Regions from separate parts of the Homo sapiens genome. Here region 2 is linked to region 1. Evidence: promoter capture Hi-C in human tissues and cell types (Jung and others, 2019). All regions are on one chromosome and are shown on one strand. The core of a region is centred on a gene start or on the middle of the fragment in contact, and the rest is flanking DNA. Distances in the headings are between cores, read along the strand shown.

What was found. Contacts are between HindIII fragments. The study calls those that stand out against the background at their distance.
Region 2: a contact is called between a fragment that was not itself captured here and the fragment with the promoter of AGBL4 in region 1, in 2 of the 25 tissues and cell types used here (dorsolateral prefrontal cortex and hippocampus).

What each region holds. Positions count from the first base shown.
Region 1 is chr1:50,019,599-50,027,050 of GRCh38, reverse strand. AGBL4 (AGBL carboxypeptidase 4) reads left to right here and starts at 3,097. Exons shown (of 14, transcript NM_032785.4): 1 at 3,097-3,288. The coding sequence starts at 3,255. LOC105378708 (a long non-coding RNA gene) reads right to left here and starts at 3,030. Exons shown (of 3, transcript XR_947311.3): 1 at 2,929-3,030. The HindIII fragment of the contact is 7,609 bases long and covers 1-6,889 here.
Region 2 is chr1:50,105,269-50,112,720 of GRCh38, reverse strand. ELAVL4 (ELAV like RNA binding protein 4) reads right to left here and starts at 3,801. Exons shown (of 7, transcript NM_001144774.3): 1 at 3,523-3,801. The coding sequence starts at 3,531. RefSeq lists an enhancer at 1,578-1,758. The HindIII fragment of the contact is 4,459 bases long and covers 1,428-5,886 here.

The sequences.
Region 1 (7,452 bases), core at 1,848-4,347:
AGTATCATAAAGATGTCATTTCTCCCTAAATTAATCTATAAATTTATCACAATTCTAATAAAATACCAGCAACATTATTACTTTTTTCTTTTTTTCTTTTTTTTTTTTTTGCAATTAGGCAAGCTGATTTAAAATTTTACATGGAAAGAGTAAACAACAATAGCCTGTTTATTAAAGAGCAGAATAACAAGTATGTCCTAAGAATATAAATGTTGGATATGGTATGATTAAGTGGGTGTGGCCACAGGAGTAAATGAGAACAAGGCTTGGAAAGAAGTTTATGCCATGAAGGGTCACAGGGGAAACACCAGGTTTTGGTTTGGTGTCAGAACACAGGAGCAAGGGGAAATCCTAGGCCAAAGCCTTTATTGGGATTTCTGTGAGAATCGCAAGGTAGAGCAGAGTAAACATTTAGGATTGGCTATTTTGAATACTTCTGGTGGGCTGTGGCTATAGATGCCCATCAAGGGGATCTCTCTTTAGTGCTCCTCCACTTTGCTGAGCATGCCTGTGTCATTGCTCTTACCACATTGTTTGGAAATTAATTGTAAACTGAATTTGTGCATGTTAATCCTTTCTTTCCAATTAGTTTGTAAACTTCAAAGGCATGGTATTTTTGATGTGAAAATTACATGAGATAACACAGATGAATTTCCTAGCATAATTTCAGTCTTCCCTGAGTCTGCTACTTTCTGCCTGAAACTTTGTATAAGTCACTTAAACTCTGTGAGCCTCAATTTCATCTTCTGTACAAGAGGCTGATATTAATACAAATATCATAATGCTGCTCTGAGAATGAAATGAGTTTGTGCTCGTAAAAATATGATTATAAATTAAATATTTCTCTCATTCCATTCTGCATCTAACTTAGTGGCCAGGCACATGGAAGGTATCATTTTAATGAATGTTTATGGAGGGAGTGGGTGAATCCTACAGGGTATATTTTGCTTGAAAGAAGGCACCCTTGTTGTGGGTGGGTGTTTTCTGTGGAGACAGAAATCATAGGAGGTCTCTGGGGAAGACAGACCTCCCAGGGACATATGAATGGTAGCACGGGGAAACTAATTCCCAGGAGCCCATGTAGGGGACGTTTTCCCCCCACTTCCCATGCTGTGTTATTTTTCACACAACAAAAGGGAAGTCTCTGAAGACTCCAGCAGTAGTGAAGAAGTCTATACTCCCTCCTGCACTGCTTCCTGAGGAATAGCTGACACAGAGGAGAACCGAACCTGGTCCTGTCAGCAAGCTGGTTTTCCAGGCTTTTCGTCTCCTCTGCCCAGTAAGGCATTTGTCTATCAATTCTGACTAACAAAACTTTCTGCAGTGATGGAAATGTTCTATACATATGTTGTCCAATATGGTAGCCAGTAGCCACATGTAGCTATTGAGCACTTGAAAAGTGGCAATTCTGATTAAATAACTGAGTTCTAAATTTTACTTAAAATTTAAATTGACCAATGTGGTTCAATTTAATAATGTTATATTTGTCTCTTTATCCTCAGCATCTGCACAGAGCCTGGCTCATACTCATCAAATGCATTTTCATTCATCACCCTATTTGTGTCTTAGAGCTACTCTTTGTGGTAGGCAGGACCTTTGTCTCAGTTTGTTGGAAGAGGAAACTGAGGCTCAGTAAGTTTAAGTGATTTGCCCAAGATTATAAAGCTATAACATCAGTCTGAGTAGAACCCACATCTTTCTCTTTATTTTTCCATCTCCCTATACTTAATGTAGTTCTTTTGTTCTTCTTAGCCCTTATTGACTCCTCCGACACCGAAATTCCCAAAACCCTCACAGCCTTTACATAAGTGTCATTAGGACTGTGGAAAGCACATATATATTCATCTTGATAGTTGTGTGGACATGGCTTGTGAATTTTAAACTGTTCAAATGTGAGAGATAATTCTGATAGCTATTTTCATGTAACTTTCTGTACAAGATTCTTATCCCTGATTTTAATGCAGATGAATGGACAGTTCCATGCATGTGGCCAGCATCTTACTTAGAAGGCCTTCCGGTCCGTCTCTGCATTTCTGCCTCAAGGCTTTCTCTCAAACTCTAGAAGTCTGCTCAGCCCTGGCAAGCATAACCAGGAAATGTGAGAGAGTTCAAGCTGGAAGGTGGAGAGCAACCCTCAACCAATGGAGACAGAAATTAGGAGACAAATGCCCCAGACTCTGTGTTCTTCAGTGGGACAACGGCAGGCACACATTCTACCCTGTTTTTCAGAGTCTGAAGCAAGATTAAAAATAGTTGTCTACTAAAGCAATCAGCTCAATAACACATTTTTCTTAGCGTTTTTCCCCCTTCCCTCTTTCACTCTCTCCACCTCATTTCCTTTCAGATTACCACCATTTTCCATTCAGCAGACATTGACTGAGATCCTACTTTGTGTCATGCACCACGCTGCACTATGGAGTATACAAAGATAAGAGAACAACCGTAGGTATCAGAGAGCTCATGGTCGAGAAGGAAATAATGCATAAAGCATTTGGAATAGAGGGAATATACAGGGGACTGCGGGAGGGCAGAGCTGGTCAGGACGGGTAATGTTCCAGCTTGGTTTTAGACGATAACGGCGTGTCACTACTGAAAGGTGGGAAACAGCAGCCCATATTTACTGAAAAATACGTCAGCAAAAGGATAAGTCTTTTCTGGGGTTGAGGGTTGCTGTCGCAGAGGGGCAAGGAGCCAGAACCCTTTGGGCCTCTGTGTGTTTGGGTTGGGGTGGGCACACAGTTGGTTTTCAGTGCATTTCAGTTGAAGACGAGTAACCCAGGCAAACCAAGGGGAGAAGCTTTGGGAAATCAAGAAACCTGTCCCAAGTCCCCAAAGTTGAGCACCAACCACAGAAAAGCCAGTTTAGCTAGTCTGGGCGGTCAGTACGAGGACCCCGGTCGCCGTCAGGAAAGCGCCATCCCTACAGACCTGGCCCCTGTGCTCTAGGGGTGGCGGAGCCTGCTCAGTTGCCAGGATGCGGTGGATCGGTTGCGGAGGAGCAGCGCCCCGGGGCCCAAGTCCCAGCTCAGGCCCGGGCTCGCGCCGCGGGGGCGGGGCCTTGGACGCACGCTCCTCCCAGGCGTCCCTCCCGCCCTCAGCCGCGCGCCGGCCACCCGCGCGCCTGCCGCCCGTTGCCCAGGCAACCGTCGTGCCGCGTCTTCCTGAGGTAGCTCCTGTCAGCCCACTGATCCCACCACCCGCTCCCTACTGCCCCGCGGTCTTCGCGTGAGCTCGGAGACTGAGGGACAACAAAAATGGCGGAGGGGAGCCAGTCGGCGCCTGAGGCAGGTCTGTGGGGGCGGCCGATCTGGGGAAGGCTGAGGCGGCCAGGCTGTCCTGGGTCTCAGGCAACAGGGGACTCGGGCATGGTCCTACTCCTGAGGAGGCGGTCCTGTATATTTGCGCGGTGGGTTATGACTTCAGGGTCAGGGGTCAAGGGTGGCGTGCACCCCTCTGAATGGCGGGCAGGGACCTCGAAGTCCGGGTGGTGGAGGGGAGTGTGGGTTAGTGTGCACACTTCTGACAGAACATGGGCCCGAAAGGGGCTGGGACCTGAGGGAAGAGACAGGATCTTAATCCTGGGATCACCTGTGGTGAAGGCTAATCCTAGGGCTAGGCTGTGTCATGGAAAGGGTGTACACTGCCCTGTGGGAGCATGGGAGAGATCCCTAAAGGGGCATGATTTGGGCTCGGGGTGGGAGTAGGAGGCTCTGACTCTAAAGAGGGAGGTATACGTGGAAGGTGTGTTACTTTAATATCAGACAGTGCCATGGAAGGGGGAGTTAGAGTATTTGTGTTTGGGGATGTGCAGTGTCCTCAGGGTCACTCCTGGTCACAGAGAAATTTATGCAAATAATTCTTGTATGGGTCCTTAAAAAGACAAGAGGCCTTGAGGGGATACCCGGAGCCCCAGTCCTTTAGGAGCCTACCAAAGGAGGCTGGAGCGTGAGTGTGAGTGTGTGTGGGTTCAATGATCTTGAAGGTCATTCAGAATCAAAGGAGTGCATGTCCACACTTCTGTGGGTAGAAGATAGCCTTTAAGGGACAGGAAGACTGACAGGAAGGGAGACCCAGGATCCTATTCCTGAGGGGACCCCTTGTGCATATGGCTGGGATTTGTGAGATACTGACTTTAAGTTTCTCACAGGGTCATAGAAGAAAGCAAAGGTTTTTACAGTTTTGAGTATGTGGGAGGGAGTTTGCCTCTAAATGAGGCTGACCACTGAAGAACTGGATGTTACGGGATGGCATGGGTGTGTGGGTAGAAAAGAAGTGGCTTTGGGAATATGTGTGTGATGGGTGTTGGCAGTGGTATACATAACCTTGTATATATGTCCTGATCAGGTATTATCATTACAAGAGTGATCCACTTGAATTACTTTGGTCCTGGTGTGTGTGTGTGTGTGTGTGTGTGTGTGTGTGTGTGTGTGTGTGTGGTTATGGTACATACACACCACACCCCAGAAACTGGAACTGAAAACTATGACACCCTCAGAAATAAGTTCGAGGAACCATTATGTCTCAAGGCCTTCATTATTTCTCTTTCTTTCATGGCACCTCTGTTTTATTGAGTAGCTCCTCTACTCATTTTATAGTTTTAGCTCCCTCATAACTTGAACAGGCTTATTCCTTTATTCATTCATCCACTCAACAAATATCGAGTGCTAACTATATGCCTGGCAATAAGTTAGGCATTGGAAATTCCCTGCTTTGGATGAGCTTACCTTGTTCTTCTTTTCCTTTTTTTCTCATAGCATTTATTGCCTTTGAACATACTATTTAATTTACTTGCTTGTATTGCTTATTTCCTGTCTCCTTCCACTACAATGTAAGCTCTACAAGGGCATTGTTTTATCAATACCACATGTCTAGAACTTTTCTAAGTGTATAGTATGTTCTCAATAAAGATTTCTTAAATGAATAACTGAATTACTGATATTGTCTGGAAGTGATATTTTAGCTGACATATGATAGGGATTGGATAATTGAAAAAAAGGGCAAAGAGTGGTCGAGGCAGCAGGAAAACCATGTGCAAAGAACCCAAGCAGGTGGAAACATGTTATGCTGTGTTTGAGGAACTGAAAGGAGACAAGTGTGGGTACATGTGGGGCAATGGGAAGAGAGAAGAGGTACGCTGAAGCCAGATCTTCCAGTACTTTGTAGAATATGATATGAATTTGGGTCAGAAATCCTAAGAATAATGGGAAGCCATTGAAGGCTTTTAAGTGGGAGCATGCCATGATTAGAATAATTAAAAAATAACTCTGGCTACAATGTGGAGAGTACAGAGGATACAAGAGTGGATATAGGATATACTCTCCACCAGCTACATTGAGGAGAGTACAGAGGATACAAGAATGCATATAGAGAGACCTTAGAAGGTAGCAGTGGAGATGAAGAGAAGGAATTGAGAAATACTTAGGAGATAAAATTAATAGGACTTAGTGAAATATGAGGATGATGGAGAAGGAAGTATCGAAGACTACTTCTCATTTTCTAATTTGTTCAACTGGATAGTTAGTGGTGCCATTATTGGGATAGGGAGCATTGGAAGGGGCCTTGGGTAGGTGTGAGAGGAAAGATCATTAATTTGGTTTTAGATAAGTGGAGATTGAGGTATCTTTAGGACATCCAGATAAGCAGAGAGATTGACAAGGCAGTTGAATTTACAAGAAAAGTGTAAACTGGCATAGAGATAATTATTTTGACATAGAAATAATTACTCAAGCCATGGGTGTGGATGAAATTGCCTAGAGGGAGAAGAGGCCTGGGATGAAGTGTTGAGTAGCTGCAATATTTCAATGCCTTCCAAAGAGACTGAGAAGGTGCGACTGGAGAGATTAGAGCACAGCTAAAGGAATGTTTCAAGATAAATGGAATACTCAGTAGACTGAATGCTGCCAAACAATATAAAATGAAGGGCTAAAAAACTAGATTTAGCAACAGAGAGGTCATTGGTAACATTGATGGTAGAAAATTGATGATGGTAAAAAGCCAGGTCATTTAGGCAAATAATGCCTCAGTCTTTGTTTAATTCAAATTTCTGAGAGAGATAATTTTATTGACCCTTATTGTCTTTTACCACTAAATCACAGTCCAGTGTCAGGATTGACTGGTTTTAGATTAGGTGTCCAGCTATTGCTGGCTGGAGTCACCTGATACAAAATATGGCCATCTGGTAATTTCTTAATCTCACTTGAAATAGCCAACATTTATGAAGTGTTTATTTTGTACCACGCATTGTACTAAGTGCTTTATACATTTTACTTCAGTCTCATAACAACTCTTTAAGGTATTCTCTATGTTTTATATGTGGAGAAGTTTTGGCACGGAGAAGTTGACAACTTAATTAAGATCTGCAAAGAATTAGTAGAAGATTAGTTTTTTTGACAATTTAAATGTTACCCAGATTCATTATTTGGCTTTGTGTTTGTATTACAACATACTACGTTCTGAAGAAATCATAGCCATGATGAAAATCCCTGCCTTACAGGAAATATTCTAAACTAAGCATATTCTAACAAGGTGAAATGGAAAGAAATGGGCTCAGATCCTTGTGTAAACCCTACTTTTGTGACTGTGACTTATTATATGTGGACCTTGGACTCAAGTTTTATGATCTTCAGTTTCCTCATTTGTAAAATGGGGATGATATTTGCAGGATAGCTGTGAATATTAGAGATCATATACTTGAAGTGTCCAATAAATGTTATGTCCGTAGTTCACTTGAAGCTTGAATATAAAAAATTTCAAATGTATTGCATATACTTTACATATAAAAGAAATTATATAAACATACAATGATGAGTATAAGAAATTCTGTTTTTTCTTCATTGGTTTTTCACTGCTTTGCTGTCAGAAGAAAGGCAGACATTAAGTTTTGGAGAATGTAGAATTGTTACCTGAACTGTGTATCATGGGACCGGTCTCTGTGTGAGGTAGATTTTGAGGAATTTCTTGGAGGAATAAGGGACACTTAAGATATCTTAAGCATGCTTTTATATGTAAAGTATATGCAATACATTAGAAATTTTTTATATTCAAGCTTCTTACAGAGCATGTAGATAGCTCTGTAAGAGGGTCAGATTTATAAAAGGAAGTTTCTTCTTTTAAATCTTGTGCTTTAAAATGGGGACACAAATGTCAGGACTTTTTCCCTATAAATTTGATTATCAATACTAATAAAAAAGAAAACCTTACAGTTAATTACATGTAGGAGTATTAGTCTCATGCTAGATTGCACCTGCTTCTTTTTCTTAGCTTCTTCTCCCTCTCTTCCAGCTATCTTAAAAAAGCTTTTATTTTAGTTACCCGGTAAAATAATTTGTTTTTCTATTTTGTCAAGTTATTCTGTGGAAGCCCATGTAGGCAAACATTTTTTTAAATGATGCAGTCTGTTAAAATGGACCGTACCTTTATCACTCTCTGTGAAATAAATGGGTCTATTTTAAA
Region 2 (7,452 bases), core at 2,408-4,907, 85 kb before region 1:
TTGTTTGTTAGCTTTTTAAAAAATGAGATATTAAATTGTCTTGTAAATCAACAATTCTCAAAGTAATTTTTCAGCTACTTCCTCATCTATGTTAATTTTACCCTTTCAAAAATTTAAATATTAAATGATTTAGCTGTTATGTTACTATGAGATATATGGACATTCTGATCATTAAAACTGCTACTTAGTCAGATGTTTTTTGCAGAAATATTTCCAATTGGATTTTCACTTCTTAATAAATGCACATTCAGCCTTGTGCTTCCATAAGAGCACAACTCCACATGAAGGTAGTAGGCATTAATATTTTTAAGACAAAGGATCGAGAAAGGTCAGCATCAGAACCACGTGTCTTTTTTACAACCCAAGCCAAGATGACACTTCTTACAGAAATTATTTTCCCCTAACTAAAAATTGCCAGAAAATTCTCAGAAAATAAAAAAAGAAACTATATTGGAGACTTAAAAAAATTCTATTTTTTTAAAGGTGACACAGGCTTATGCACTCAACATATGGCCGCAAGTTTCAAGTGTATGACAAAAAATACAAGTTTATTTATTTTTACCTCAAGAGTGAAAATAAAATTTTTAAATCCCCTAATAAGAAGAGAAAACAAAAAGACGCATCTGCAAGGAAAAAAGAATTGGGGGGATTTGCAATGAAGAGAGCAAAAATTAAGTGTACTTTCAATAAAGCCAATTATATTTCCTAATCTTTTAGTGTATTTCAGCATTTTTAAATCTCTCATTTTTGGGCTTACAATTAGCTCCCTGATCATGCATCTATTTTGTCCTTTAGTAAAAAACCCTAACAGATCACCATTTCAATTGTTTTTACGCTATCTCCTGTTCACCCAAATACTACACCTTTCAATCCTTATGGTACCCACCATCATGAGAAAAAGAGACTATTAGTAAAGCACATTTAGAGAAAAAAGAGAGATGCTTGTCACCCAGTGCACACATGGGTCCCAGACGTCCAAAGACACTAATATAAAAATCAGCTTTTCACTCAGTTTGTGCCAAGACCAGAATCAGGACCAAATGCCAAATGGAAGGCAGTGGTTATGAGAGTGCAAGCCTGATGGATCCTGTGACTGTGGGCATGGGGAAAGAAGGAAAGCAAAAAGCTCTTCATTTATTATTTTGTAAAGTAATTTCTACTGAGGAAAAAAATGAGAGGTACAATGAATTCCCCTGAAACTATAGTATCAACATCCGATTTAGTAAAAATACCAAAATCACCTAACCCCAAATCATTGCTTAGGGTAGATCTATTCTACCTATATTTTTCCTATGAATATTTGCTGGAAATTTCTAAGAAATCATTTGCAGAACCTATCAGCTGTGGGAGTTCACTATTATGCTTCCGTCAACTTCATTCAATATAATTTACATTTTTTCAAATGGTCTCACAGGATTCCTTGCGATTTTTCGCATGTACAATTTCACACCAGGGAAAAGGGGGAAAAAGGAAAAAAAAAAAAGCAAGATTCCCTACCCTCCCTTCCCCCTCACCTCCTCTCTGGGTTTTTTAAACAACAACAACAACAACAAAAACCACACGCGCACACACACACGCACACACACACAAAAACAGGGGAGACAGAACAGATGCTTAAAAATAGATTTCTAAAAATCACTGTAAACCAGAGTTAGAAATGTAATTAACACCTATTAATAACGAATAATTAAAGTTGGGCTGGCCACAAAGAACAGCAAAGATAATCGAGGTCCTGTCCCCCTCCCCTTTTTTTTTACACTGTTTGCAGTGTGTTCTCATGATAGCCACCTGCTCCCTACTCGGCTTCTCCTCTGTTCGTTTCCCCGGCAACCTTTCATTGGGTTTTCCTCCCAGCTATCGCTTTCAGTTGGGCTGCTCGGTCTAATCTTATTTGTTTTACACCCATCAAAACAAGCAGCCAGACAAAGGCAATCCTCTAAGAATGGGAAAAAGACCACAGCTTTGTTATAACATCTATGCAGAGCAAAAAGTCCTCCCCAGGCTTTTCTAGGGAAAAATAAGTAAGATGGTTATGAATTTACAGCCTGCCCCCATACCCAGCTCTGAAACCTTGTGAAACCTATTGCTGGTGAAAATTCAAAGTCAAAGTGGGCACTCGTGGCATCTAATCATGCCATTTTGTGCCATATCTTCAGGGTCAACATCAGGCGACAGAAGCGGCACTCAAGGAGTTTCCCTGCTTCTTTTTTCAGAAAAAGATGATGCTAAAAATAGATTTACTACTTCGGCAGAAAGGTTTTCCACTTCCCCTTCCACATCCGAAAGTCCTGTTTCACAATTGCATCGGCTGGTACTGAATCTCACCTCCTCCACCCCTCATTCCCATCCTTCCCCATCACTCCTAGCATGAGACTGAAAAAGAAATGTGCCTTTAACTTTAGCAGTCGTGTAATTCCGTTGAAGGCTCACAGAGGCGGTGGACACGCCAGCCAACAGTGACGGTGACATTGATTGTCAAAAAAGACACCAACCTTCCTTGGCTAAAATGTGTGTTTGCTGGAAGAGGCAGTGTGTGTGCCTTGTGTGCATGCAGTGCCATTACACTTGGAGATGGATTCTGGTTTTCAGAAAAGAGAAATACTAATAAACACACACATACATACACACACAAACGATCAGCACAGTGATTTACGATGCACAGTCCAGCATCCTTACACATACACACATACAAGCACACACACACACACACACACACAGGGCTGGGACCTCCAGGCTGCCTTCCTCTTTTCACTTACCATCTTCAAGCCATTCCACTCCATCTGTGATCAGAAGAAGATGGACCCTCACACAGTGTGTCAAAAGCGGAAAGGAACGTTATGTAAAAGCTGACATTCCTTCTTACAGAGCTGCTGCCCAGAGAAGGAAGCAACAACTCAACACGCCAGGCACTGCTACACATACAAGCCGCCTCCTCTTTTTTATGAGGTCATGACAGGAAACTCTTTGAAATACAAGATGCAGCATTTACTGAAGCCCAAATAAATCACTCTCTTTGCCGTTTTGACTGCGCAGTCCCCCGAAACACAACTGCCCATCTCAGTGTTCAGTATCCAGGAGCTGCCTCTCGAGGTTTAAATTTCCAGCACGGAAATTGAGAGATTCCTAACCCCGCTGCATCCACCCCCAGCCCCACAAAACCCAGGCACGTAGACAAACCCCCTCTCCCTTACAAAAAAGAAAACCCTTCTTTTGCCATTATGTCTCAAGTAATATAACCTCTTTCAATAAACCAGCAATTATTTCAGCCCTCCCCCTCCACCCCTTGCCTTTATGTTGAAGGGAAAACTGACAACGACTTGCTAAAAATGACAATCTTATATCCCCATTGCTTTTCAATAAAAGGACCTACCCGCACTCTCTACACAAAAGAGATAGTAAATGTAGGAACCAAACAGCAGCACAGAACTAAACTCTTGTGCAAGCATAAGACTGGTCAAGGTGTAGATGCTTTTCTTCCCTCCAGCAACACAAACAACAGATTATAAATCTAGTCATACCTACCATAACCATTCTTATTGGCAAATATTGGGTCTCGCAGAGCTTCGACTCTTCTGTTAAAATTTGCAAAGATTTCAGAATATATATTTAAAATGACTACTATTGTTATATATAATTAAAGATCCACAAAACACAGTGTGGATGATTGTAAAGCAAATCAATTATTTTTGGGGGGGTGGGCGGGGGAGAGAAAGAAAAAAAAGAAAAGGAGCAGTGAGCTGAAACCCCCGATTCTAGGATGTAGATAAGAACAACTGAACAGAGCCTTGCTGAAATTGGCTCGAAGCTTCCCCTTTTTACATCCATTTATGGGACCATCTGTCAGCCGAAGCCTGGATCTGATTGGCTGGGGAAACGAAGGGAGGCGTTGCAACATCAGGTGCTATTTAAATTAGCTACTGCCAGATTGACGATGTTAATGATTTGGTGACCTCTACAACAACAGAGACCAGATTTCTGAACTGCTTCTTGTGTCTGGTAATTAAGGCCCGGCTGAAGCAACAACAGCCATACTTGTATTTTTACCTTTTCCCTCCTCCCAGCTCAAAAGTACTGTAACAACTGCAGGTCACTGGAGGCTTGCAAACCTAAACTAACAGTGGGAGGGTCCTTCTTTTCCCATCCTGAGGGCCGAACCGTGCCACCTCTCTGATGGAGGGCTTTTCCACCGTAGAATATTTTCAACCACCTTATCTTTCTAGACAGTTGCTTTCTAGCGAAATGCATATTTAATGATCTGCCTGTAGGCTTAAAGGTACAACAAAAGCACTTTAATGTGCTAATTCATCTACAATTTAACTTTATTATTTCCAGATATTGCTGATTTTTAGTAAGTAATGCTCCTTCTCCAGCTAACATGGCCAACATTTCAAAAGCAAGCAAGTTGGGGATTAAGCTTGCTCCGTGAACTAGGTTCATACAAGTTTGTCTCAGAAAACTATTTCCTAATAAACAAAAAGAAAAAAAATGGTGGGGGTAAGGGAGGGGCAGCTGTCAGCCTCTACCTTTCTGCCTTCTGTCTGAGCTTTTCAAAACTGAGGATGATGAATGATTTACTTAAATGAATTTATTTTTCAAGTTGGATAGGAACATGATCTGAATTTTTAAAAATCCACTAAAACACATTCTCCTACCCCTTTAGAGAAAGGTAAAACATGCTTTTGACAACAGCCTCATTTCAAAACCTGTGCAGAGTGTTCATTTTGCTTAACTAAATAAGTGATTTTGCTTCTCTCCTTCAAAGGGATGTCTTTTTTTCTTTGGCCTCTTAAGAGATTTGCAAAGAGACATTTAGCAAGTGTATGGTGAGGTATACAGTTTGTCTGCCTATTTACACATTTAACAACCTCTACACTACCAAGCCTTCAGTAGTGTATTTTTTGTTCTGGTTTGGGTTTTTTAAGTGGCTTACCTGAGAAGTTCATGCTTCACACCTATGCAAAAGACTAATGTGTCACTATTTATTTAACTCATAATTTAATCAATTTGTTCTTCAATAAATACACAGTGGTAACACATATTACCAAATACAAAATTCAATGTAATCTTTAATCTTTGACTAGAGTTGACAGTGAGACAGAACTAGGCAGAGTAGACATACAGACCAAAAAATAAGCTATATTTCTGGGTTTCAAAGTCCAAGAATAAATGGGTTTGTGAAAAATTATTAGGAAAGAAAATAACCTTACATTTTTCAAGATTAAAACTATTCTGTCCAAGATGCTGTTTCATGAACACACACATATAAACATACATATATATTCACACTTCAGAAAATACAGATACATCATAAAACAATATGTGTTGGGTACACTGCATAATCCATTAGACTTGAGTATGAATACGTTCAGCTATTAGAAATGAAAATACATGAAATAGAAAAGTACAAATGTTAAAACTATAATTCCTTAAGGTGGAACAATACTCAGTTAAGTAAACTTTTAAAGTAATTTCTTTAGCAAATGTATAAAATGTCCTGTGAGTCACAATAGTACTACAGTATCTGTTGAACTGTGTACTGAGGGTGAATTCACAGGTTAAAGTGTTCTAAATGGTTCAGCATATATACACAGAGTAGGTATGTGTGCCCCAAATCAACAACATAAACTCTGAGTGCAATTTCACCAATATTAAAATATTGTGAAAAGTAAACATTAAGACAATGCTGACAAACACAAATAAAAACAGCTCACTTGGAACAAAATATTTACTTAGATTTCTCTGGAGGTTATAAAAGATAAAAATTTTAAAAACCCTTTTCTCCCATCCATACTAACCTCAGTACACTTATTGAACCATAAATTAACATTAGGTATATTAAAAGGTATTCTGGCCACTTTTCCAAAATAGTAGCTGTATATACAGTATAAATAACTAGCTGGTTTTGCTAGGCTAAAAATTCATGCATTTTGTATATTGATCACTTTTCCACAAACCTCCACTTTAAAGTCTTTCAACAGAATCCTCAAACAAATGCACAAATGTCCTCAGAGGCCTTTTCTCTAAAGACAAAGGCAGAATCCTATTGTTGGGAAAAGTCAACCTTATTATCGCATTTCCAATAGTACAATTCATCTTTCAGAGTGAGGGGCTGACCGCTACATCAGTGATGTGACATTTGTAAAGCAACAGATTCTCAATATATTATCTCAAGAATCAGGCAGGCGAGTCTCCCAGTCATGCATGATTTTTTTTTTCTGCCACAATCCACCACCACAGAAAGAAACTTGTCTCACTCAAGCAGCTAAGGCAACCTAAAAATGATATCCCAGCACTGTGGGGCTGCCAGCGCCGCTGTATTCCTCTTACCATAAATGAGCAGTTTCTTGACTCATTAATGACAATTTCCCTTAAAAGAAGTAATCTCATATCAGTCAGCCCCTTGCCACCATGCACACATCCCAAAGGTTGCAGATATCTCAGCATCAGTCGCCGGCAGCCAGCTTTCCCACACAGAGTCCAGATGGACTGTACCAGAAGCCAATTCAGCGTTAATAACTACCTACTCCGCGCAGTGGAGAAGCCTTACGTGGCACAATGGGCTAGGAAACAGCAGCCGGCTGAAACTGCAAATAAAAAAAGACAACCAAATTCTCCAAAAGCACCAAAAGGAAGGAACAGAAATGGAAGCGTGAATTGTATTTCCTTGACTTCCATGAGGCGGAAAAAAAGGAATCCTTCATAAATATAGGGAAAAAAAAGAAGAGGGGGGAAAAACAGATGCTGCCCAGAAAAAAGTGACAAAATATTACCTCATTATTTAACAAAGCAGCATTAAGCGTCCTGCTGATTTCAAACATCTTGCCACAGATTTTGTTTTAAGAGAAACAGATAGAATCCTTTGCAAAGCACTCCGTCTGCAAAGGGTTCTTCAATTTTCTTGCGCACCACGGAACAGTCAATATATTATTTCCCTAGAGTTCGTACATTAAAACCTCTAGTCAGTGAGCTGAATTTTCCCCTTATCTCACACACAGTAGACTCCTGTTATATGTACTGCTCTCTTTGCAAGAGCAGCCTGCCCCAAACATGGCTGGTGTTTAAACTACTCTTTAAAGTAACAGTTCACTATATAACCACCAGGTGGGTAGAGTGCACAGATTCAAATGAACCATCTTAAAAGATTTCTTTTTTTTTTCCCCTTGGAATAGCTTTTGGGTGTAAAATGTGACATGAGAAACACTAGCATCTTAACAGGCAAGATTGTCTCTCACTATATCTTGTCAAAATAAATAAATAAAATTCCTTCTCTTGACTTAAAGCAAGGAAATGAAACAAAACAAAACAAAACACTGCCACAAATTCTAATAAGAACTGCGAAGAATGAAACACAAACAAGCTTTGTTTCATTCAGCAAAGGATGAACAAGGAAAATACAATCAACACAGAGCAATGGGGAAGGCCAAAAACCTCATGAAAATATTTCTCTTTAGC